3 separate regions of the Homo sapiens genome follow, and regions 2 and 3 are each linked to region 1. Evidence: promoter capture Hi-C in 16 types of primary human blood cells and fetal thymus (Javierre and others, 2016). All regions are on one chromosome and are shown on one strand. Each heading gives the region's core, a stretch centred on a gene start or on the middle of the fragment in contact. The rest is flanking DNA. Distances are from core to core; before and after follow the strand shown.

Evidence for each region. Contacts are between HindIII fragments. The CHiCAGO score rates a contact against its expected background, and 5 or more counts as called.
Region 2: a fragment that was not itself captured here is called in contact with the fragment with the promoter of LRP2BP in region 1 in 1 of 17 cell types (naive CD8 T cells); the score reaches 5.0 in naive CD8 T cells.
Region 3: a fragment that was not itself captured here is called in contact with the fragment with the promoter of LRP2BP in region 1 in 1 of 17 cell types (megakaryocytes); the score reaches 5.0 in megakaryocytes.

What each region holds. Positions count from the first base shown.
Region 1 is chr4:185,394,417-185,397,204 of GRCh38, reverse strand. LRP2BP (LRP2 binding protein) reads left to right here and starts at 1,281. Exons shown (of 9, transcript NM_001377440.1): 1 at 1,281-2,426. It overlaps ANKRD37 (ankyrin repeat domain 37), which reads right to left and starts at 364. Exons shown (of 5, transcript NM_181726.4): 1 at 255-364; 2 at 1-55. The coding sequence starts at 281. RefSeq lists silencers at 379-748, 969-1,158 and an enhancer at 779-848. The HindIII fragment of the contact is 1,591 bases long and covers 209-1,799 here.
Region 2 is chr4:185,137,369-185,140,155 of GRCh38, reverse strand. No RefSeq gene overlaps it. Among named protein-coding and RNA genes, the nearest start is that of SLC25A4, 4.5 kb to the left of the region's middle. The HindIII fragment of the contact is 1,006 bases long and covers 921-1,926 here.
Region 3 is chr4:185,040,149-185,042,865 of GRCh38, reverse strand. No RefSeq gene overlaps it. Among named protein-coding and RNA genes, the nearest start is that of LINC02436, 10 kb to the left of the region's middle. The HindIII fragment of the contact is 163 bases long and covers 1,263-1,425 here.

The sequences.
Region 1 (2,788 bases), core at 32-2,531:
CCGGGGGTGCGTTGACCGAGGCCCCTGTCTCCAGCAAATGCTTCAGACCATCCACCTGCAGGAAGAGAACAGATCCAGCACCCTTCCCACCTTTGTCCAGTCCCGCGCCCCTCCGGGCTGGAAACCTCCCCGCCCTTCACAACCAGCTCTGACCAGGCAGCGCCCAGTGGTCCGTCCCCGCATTAACGAGAAGACGAATCTAGAAGCTTGAGCCTGCAGGACAAAAGCTCGGGCTCTGTGAGCCCGAATCTCACCTCGGGGTTGCAATCCAGCAACAGCATTTCCCGCCTAAGGCAGATGACAAGAGTCCTTGGAAGTGCAGAGAGGTGAGACACTCGCCGCACCCCGACAGGTAAGAATGCGCAGGCTGGCCCTAGCACGGGAGAATTTAAAGACCGCTGGGACTTCCGGGCCGGCCCTTGGCAGCCGCGCCCCAGCTCCGGTTACGCCCGAGCAGCCTAATCCTCAACGACCCGGACCCTGTCCAGCCCCGCCACGGCCGCACGTACACAAACACTGGCACGTGGAGCCCGGCGCCGGGGGCAGGGGGAGGGGGCGGGCGCGCGAGGCCATCCGCCGATTGGCCAGCTGTGGATGCGTCAGGCCCTCCCACCTCGGGGCGGGGCCCGCGGCGGCCCCACGGAGCCTCAGCGCGCGTGCGCAGGGTAAGTCAGTGGGCGTGAGAGGACTGGAGTAGGAGCGGGTGGGGCTCCGCGGCCGCCATGAGGCGCGCTGAGTTTGACACGTCTCCCGGTAGTGCGCCCGCCCTTTAATCCTTACGGAGAAGCGGGAGTTTCGGCTGCAGGTTTTGGCTCTGCCGGCGCGCACGTAACCAGGAAACTGGGAGCCACGCGCAGCTCCCCGTCGACGCCGCCTTCAGAAGCCGCTGTGCACTGCGCTGCTGCCGCCTCGGCGCCGGGGAACGCAAGTTCCTTTACCTCGCGCGCAGTCGCCCGCCTCCCAACCCGGGAGGTGAAGGCGGGGACGGCGAGCGCGAACTCGAGGGGATGGCTGTCCCGAGTGGCAACGGCCGAGCCCGGCCCGCGCAGGGACCCTTGTGGAGGGGCCCTCGGGGAGAGGCCGCAGCACGCTGGGGTCGTCACGCTGGTCCACGCCGGGCTCTCCTCCCGGGAGAGCGGACCCGGCCGCGTGCGATTCGGACCCGCGGGGCTGGTGAAGCCGCTGTCCGGCCCCGCGGGTGCTGTCGGGCGTGCGTCACTGCTTTTTGTAGAACATGACCTGACTTCCGATGGCAGCTACTGACGTCAGAGCTGCTCCCTAGACTCTCCCTAAGCGTCTTTCCAGAAGGATCTGCTTAGAAACCAAAGCTCCAGCCGAGTGTTTCTTTTCCCCTACATTTTTAGTGATTCCCTTCTGTTGATGCCTTTGAAAGCTCGGAGAAATAAATACGTTTATTGTTATGCTGTTAGAAAACAAGTTCATGCTTGTCCTCTAAAGATAAGTGGTCTTTTCATTCTACTTTTTGTTTTGTAGTAAGAGCCATAAAATTTGCAATCGCAAGTTTATGTTGTTATACTTAGTTACCCAAGGGGTAGTTTTAAGCATTTTTATTCATATGAATATTTGAATATAAATGTGTGTTCAAATATATAGAATCGTTCTTATATTCCACATTTTTAATATTTAAACTATTCACAATATCTTTTAATGATGTTTAAAGAACGGCAGTGTAGAGATACTGTTGTCAGATTTGTGAGGTGAGCACACGTTGATATTGCCAGTTTCGCTTTTGTTTATCAATTCAATAAGCACTGCTTTTTAAAACACGTGTTGAAGCTTCAGGTTTGCACAGAAGTTCATTTTCAGGAATTCCTAACTAATAAAGGGTATCAGACACGTTCTTACAGTTTTGAACATAAATACTGCAGTTAGCATATGTAGTGGGATATTTGTGTGGTGAAAGTGCCTCCATATTTCATATCTTTTCTTTGAAACAAGATTCTGTTCAGTATGCATTAAGTGGTAGTTATTTTTTAACTTCCTGTTACATACGTAAATTTCATAAGGAAAGGAAATTTGGGGAGTCGTTACAGCTTTTCTCCCTTTAATCACAGCGTACCTGTCCATTGCTCACATTGTTTTCAGAAAAAAAAGTTGTATCTCAGCTGGATATCTGACTTGACTTTAGTAATGGGCCTAGAAACTATAAACTGAACAAAGCTTATAATGCACAAAAACAGGATAAGTACATTTGGGGGACAATATCTTACTGGCAAGTAACTGGAGTTTCACCAGGCGTGTAGCAGGTGGGATCAATTTTCTAAAACGGAAGATGATCTAAGATGCATATTTTATAGGCGTTCTCCTAAGCAGTGCTAATTCTACATGTTTTAATTGCTGGTAGATGCGTTTCCAGAACGAGGATGCCATTTACAGCGAGTGTTAAAAAAAACGTTGGATGATGAGTAAGTGACCGAATAGATGAGAGATGTGTGGGCTGAATCTTGAGTAGTAAGAGTTTGCTAAGGAGTCCAGGAAGGGAAGAGTATTTCTAAGAAGTGTAAAATATCTTCCAGTATTGAGAGCACTATATGTAGTTCAGTCTGGGGGCAGTGTGTGATACACATGCAGCTGTGATGTGAAATAGAGAAAGGCCGACAAATGAGAAAGTATTAACCACTAACGTCTATTCCAGTTTATTATATTACAAATTGACATTAATTGAGCACTTGTGCCTCAAGACTAACGCTCATAGGTATTATCTGCATTTTACAGAAGAGGAAATTGAGGCTTAGGGAGATCCATTAACTTGTCATGTAATTATTAG
Region 2 (2,787 bases), core at 174-2,673, 260 kb after region 1:
ATCAGAGTTTTGGATATTTTCTAAATGGGAGATATATTTCTCCTTGGCTACTCTCCAGTTATCCTGTTCTATAGAAGGAGTCATAGCTGGAATCCTTGACAAGAGGTTTTCCATGGAAACTCATACACTGTCCTCTGCTTCCACGGACTTTCTCAGAAAAGAGAGGCCTTACATGCCCTCGGGAGCATGAGCTGCCTGTGGTCACAAGATCCTGGTATCACTTACACAGGCAGGGGAGAGAATGGCGCTCGGCAGAACATGTGTCCACCCGCCCAACCCAGTACTTAGTGGCTTTCTTCCAGCAGGAGAATGGACAAGGCATCTAGGAGATGAGAAGAAACTCTACTTTCAATCGTGGATGGGATCTTAGATGCTGGTGGGAACAGGGCCATGTAGAAATGAGAGCAGGGTGGAAAGTTAGCCTTTTGGAATTTTAGTGGAAGCTCTTATAGACTTAGTCTCTTACCAAACTGGGAATAGAGAATGGAAGTTGCTAAAGAGTAAGAGTGACAAGGAATAAAGAAAAACAATAAAGGATGTGCTAATGGTGGTGATAACATAATGCCTGTGTGCAAGTGTACATTTAAAGTATTAGGAATTAGAACACACTACTAGTGTTTGTTCACATGGTAAGTTTCAGCATTAAGCGAAGAGGATCAAGATATTTATATGTGCATTTATTTATTTATTTATTTTAGAGACAGCATCTTGCTTTGTCACCCTGGCTGGAGCACGGTGGCACAATCACAGATCACTGAAACCATGCACTCCTAGGCACAAGGGATCCTCCTGCTTCAGCCTCCTGAGTAGCTGAGGCTACAGGCACATACCATCATGCCCGGATATATATATTTTTTAATTTGCAGGTTTTGCTGTGGTCTCCTGGTTTTGCTATGTTGCCCAGGCTATGTGGAGAAGCTTACATGCCAGGAACAGACATAGCTGTGGTGCCTACAGGCAATTCCAACGCAGCCTGGCAAGGACAAGGACCCAAGAGGGGGTTCTGGTTGTACTTCCAGCAGAGTGACTTTCAGTGTGTTGCCTCCACCGGAACTTGTACTTTTTACGTTTTATGAATGTTCGTGAAACAAAAAGTTTTGTTAGAAGGATTTGGCGCCTTATTATTTAAAGGAGGTGATTTGAGGGGGCAGAGGAGCCCTTGAATCATAGAAAAGACAGAGGGACTTCTCCTAGAAGGCACTCTGCTTCCGGGGGAAACTGATTCAGGTTGGCCTCTTGGTTGCTGGAGGCAGGGAGGCCTGGGGGACCCCCGTAGCACACCCCTGATAGACACAGGCGGACCCCGTGCACTTCCCAGACAGATTCAGAACCTTTCTTTTCCCACTTCCAATCTTAGCACCTCTCTTTACTTTGTTGAAGAGTCCAACAAGCACATTGAGTATCATACAACACAACGAAGCTAATGTTTATGCTTGCATAATAATGCCTTCCGACCATAACCACACACCTTCCAGGCTGGCATCTTCCAGTTTTGCCCACGGGCAACCTCTGTGAATAAAACCGTTACTCACCTGGAGCTGACTGGGTCCATTTTCTAAACACATTTTGAACTAGTGTTTTGTGTTTCACATATCCTATCAATCATTTTTAAAAACATGCTTTATTTCTATTATTAAAATCAGTAGGCAACAAATGTTATCAGAGACTATTTTTTATCATCTGTACTACTGAAGAACAATATTTTGCTATTTTAATGAATAAGGGTTTTCTTCCATATGCGTTCTTTTACCTCATGACCCTTTCCTCATAGTCAGCTAGACGTTCTGTGTCACTGCCACAGGAAAAAGAAAACATTCAGGAAGCAGAGGAAGTAAGAGTCTATTCTCGGCATTAGAATTTCCAAAGGAAGAGAAAAAACTCAAGCCCAGTGGACTTCGTAGAATACTTGAGGGAAAACAAAAAGCTTTCTGCACACAGCCGGGCACGGTGGCTCACGCCTGTAATCCCAGCATTTTGGGAGGCCGAGGCGGGCGGATCACCTGAGGTCAGGAGTTCGAGACCAGCCTGACCAACATGGAGCAACCCCGTCTCTACTAAAAATACAAAATTAGCCGGGCGTGGTGGCGCATGCCTGTAATCCCAGCTACTCGGGAGGCTGAGGCAGGAGAATCACTTGAACCCGGGAGGCGGAGGCTGTGGTGAGCGGAGATCACGCCACTGCACTCCAGCCTGGGCAACAAGAGCGAAAACTCCATCTCCATAAAAACAAAAAACTTCCTGCTCAGCTACTCTTACAAAGATTATATGAAGTTTTCCCAAACCTGGAGAGAAAGGAAGAAAGTTAGAGAGAAAGCAAAGAATGTGAGGCTCGTGTGGATCCCTGGGAAGGAGGGGCCTGTATTCTGCGCAGCCCAGGGAGGCACAGATGCAGGGGAAGAAACGGCCGGGCGGTGTTTCAGCACACAGGGCAGAGGCAGCCTTGCAGGGTTGATCCAAGTGCAATGAGGGAGACGGAGAACAGATCCCTGGTACCTGAGGGATTTGCTTGTGTCCATAGTCCGCAAAATGAAGGCAGCCTGCTGGAGTGAAGGTCCCTAGAGAGCCCCGTTCAGCTTTTCCTGCTCTTAATGTCTCCAATGTGGCGCAGGAGCAGCAGAATAACGTTTCCTTTTCAAGGCCACCACAGTCCGCTGACAGCAAGCCAGGCCTGAAGAGCCTCAGGGTTGGAAGAAAGGAAAGTGTGACCTTGAAAGAACACCCTTGATGGAGCACAGACTGAAGACCGGAAGCGAATGCGGGCCAGGCCGCGGGTGCCAGCACGGCCAG
Region 3 (2,717 bases), core at 95-2,594, 350 kb after region 1:
ATAATGACAAGGGAATTTGGCAAGCACATCCTTGGATCCGAATCCTGACCACTGGAGAATCATTCTGCATAGCCCTCTTACCTGTGTATGGCGAGAGCCAACAGTGCGGGAATGAATAGCTGGGATTACCATTGTGTCTGTTATTCTACTGGTGGTTGGTATGGTCAATAATAAGGACTTCTAGCACATGAGAAGAGCCTAACAGAGGCCATCTTTGTCAGATACTGTATATGTTACTGAGCTATATGCCAGGAGGAGATAGCCATCAACCCAGAAAGTGTGGGACTTACTAGACTTGTAAATTTTAGGGCTACTCTTCCTTCCTGTGAATTTACTACTTGTTTTATTAAGTCTTTGTTTATGTTGCTGTCAAGTGAGTTTCTATCACCAAGGGACATTTCAAATTCCATCAGCTCTCCCCTCACTACCATATTCTTTGAAGGGCTTAGCTATATACTGGTATGACCTATCTAGTTCTAAAATTAGGGAGCAATCTAGGCCCCTTAAGCATGTAGATCCTTTATGTTTCATGTAGTTTAATAGAACTACTGGGGGTGGATGCTTGTGTTGCCAGAGTACTTTTTCTTTCTTTCTTTCTTTCTTTTTTTGAGACAAGATCTCACTCTGTCGCCCAGGCTGGAGCACAGTGGTGCCATCATGGCTCACTGCAGCTCAACGTCCTGGGCGCAAGTGACCCTCCTGCCTCAGCCTTCCAAATAGCTGGGACTACAGGCACAAGCCACCACACCCAGCTAAGTTTTGTGTTTTTGTAGAGATGGGGTTTCTCCATGTTGCCCAGGCTGGTCTTGAACTCCTGGGCTCAAGTGATCTGCCCACCTCTGCCTCCCAAAGTGCTGGGATTACAGGCTTGAGCCACTGCACCTGGCCAGAGTTCTAATTGTTAGCTCTTGGGAGAAAACTAAGAATCATCTAACTGAAACCCCTCATTTTATTGAAGAGGAAATCAAGTCCCAGCAAACTGGCATGACTTAGCTTTACTTAACTCATTGTGACACTTAGTTGGATCAACATTACAGAAAAAGGAACACATAATATCTAATTTTTGCCCAGTATATTGATATGAAATACATCCTACAGCTATGTTGACTTCTTGGGTTGTTCTAAATTCTTCAAGATCACTGTAATTTGGAGTTTCTGGTAATTTTAATATTTTATGTAATTCACATAAAAATTGGAACCTAATACTCAGATTCCTCTTATTAAAACTGAATTAAATCAGTATTTAGAAAATAAGTAAAGCTTCCTTTATTCTTTTTTTCTTCAAAAGTTACTTAAGATAAATAAAAATTTGGTTTCCAAACACTATCAGGCAGTAGAAAAAAGAATTTGAAGATCTAGATGAAAGGAACTTCAGATGCCTCCTCCAGGAATATATGTACTTCCTTTTAAAGAGGTAAGAAAGCTTACATCGTTTAAAGAGTTTTTTTTAAGGTAATATGTTGTACTGTCCTTCTTTACTACAGTTTTTCTTTGAAAATATATGCTTTTCTAACGAATAAATTATAATATAGTTTGGGAGAACAAATAGATAATTTTTAAGGAAAATTAAATATCATAATTTATAATTATGCATAATTTATGCATGTATTCATTTGATGGAGTTTATTGAAAACACTTTATTATTTTTCAATTTGCTTTTCTATAAAGTCCTTGAAAAAGTGTTCAGACATAGAAAAGTCAATGGCATAAAACAGAGCTAGTAGCTTATTTCTACATAGTCACATATTTATCCTAGTTCCTTTCACGATTCCACGTCTCATTGTTCCATTACAAGTAGGACTCACAATATTTTAAAGGTCATCCTCATGTCATCCTGAAGTGACATGAGGAGAGAGCTGTATTCTTTGGGAAACACTGATCACAAACCAAGAAAAGGCCCTGAACTTCAGGGAATTTGTAAGACATTGCGGCCACTCACCAAAATCTGTTTTCCCAATGCCAAAAATGAGCCCCTCTAGGAGAGGTGACAGCTGTTTCAAGATGCGTTCTCAGACGCTCATCTGTGATTCAGACATACTTGTAGATAGAGGAGGAGCAAAGGTAAGACCTCACATCCCACCCTAGCCCTGGCAAGCCCATCAGCAGCCCGAGTCCCTGTGTGTGGTTATCCACGGCTTCACAGCTTAGCTTTCTGTTAGGCCTCAGAATGAGAGCTGTTGATGACTCATTAATGCTAACCATTGATTCCTGTGTCCCGGGTTAAGACTCAAAGGACAACATGGCAAGCAAGACCAGTGTCCCTTGTGATTTCTCCCCAGTAGGAAATACTCTTCTGTTCCTCTGTGGCCACTCTGTCCTCACAGGGAGTGACTTCTTACCCTGTCCCGAAAACTCACAATATAGACCCTGGACCCCTCATTCTTTCTCCTCAGTGACAAAGGTCTATAGTTCATGTATTTTAAAAACTACTCTGTGGTTTATAACCTAATTTTTAAAGTACTATTTAAGTTGTTCTCCAAAAGAATTTCACTGAATATTTAAAAACACGTTTGGAAAACTTAAGCACTATAGTTTTAAGCCAGCTGTCTAGGAATTTAGTTTGGACACATGAGAAAGATGGTCAAGAATCAAGAGCAGCGATGGGGTCTTGGGTACCCACGGCTACGCTGGACTGTTAAGGTAGTAAGGATAGTCTGAGAGGTGGCTTCAGAGGTCTGGATTAAGTGTTAGTTTGTCAGTCCTTTATTATAAAATGG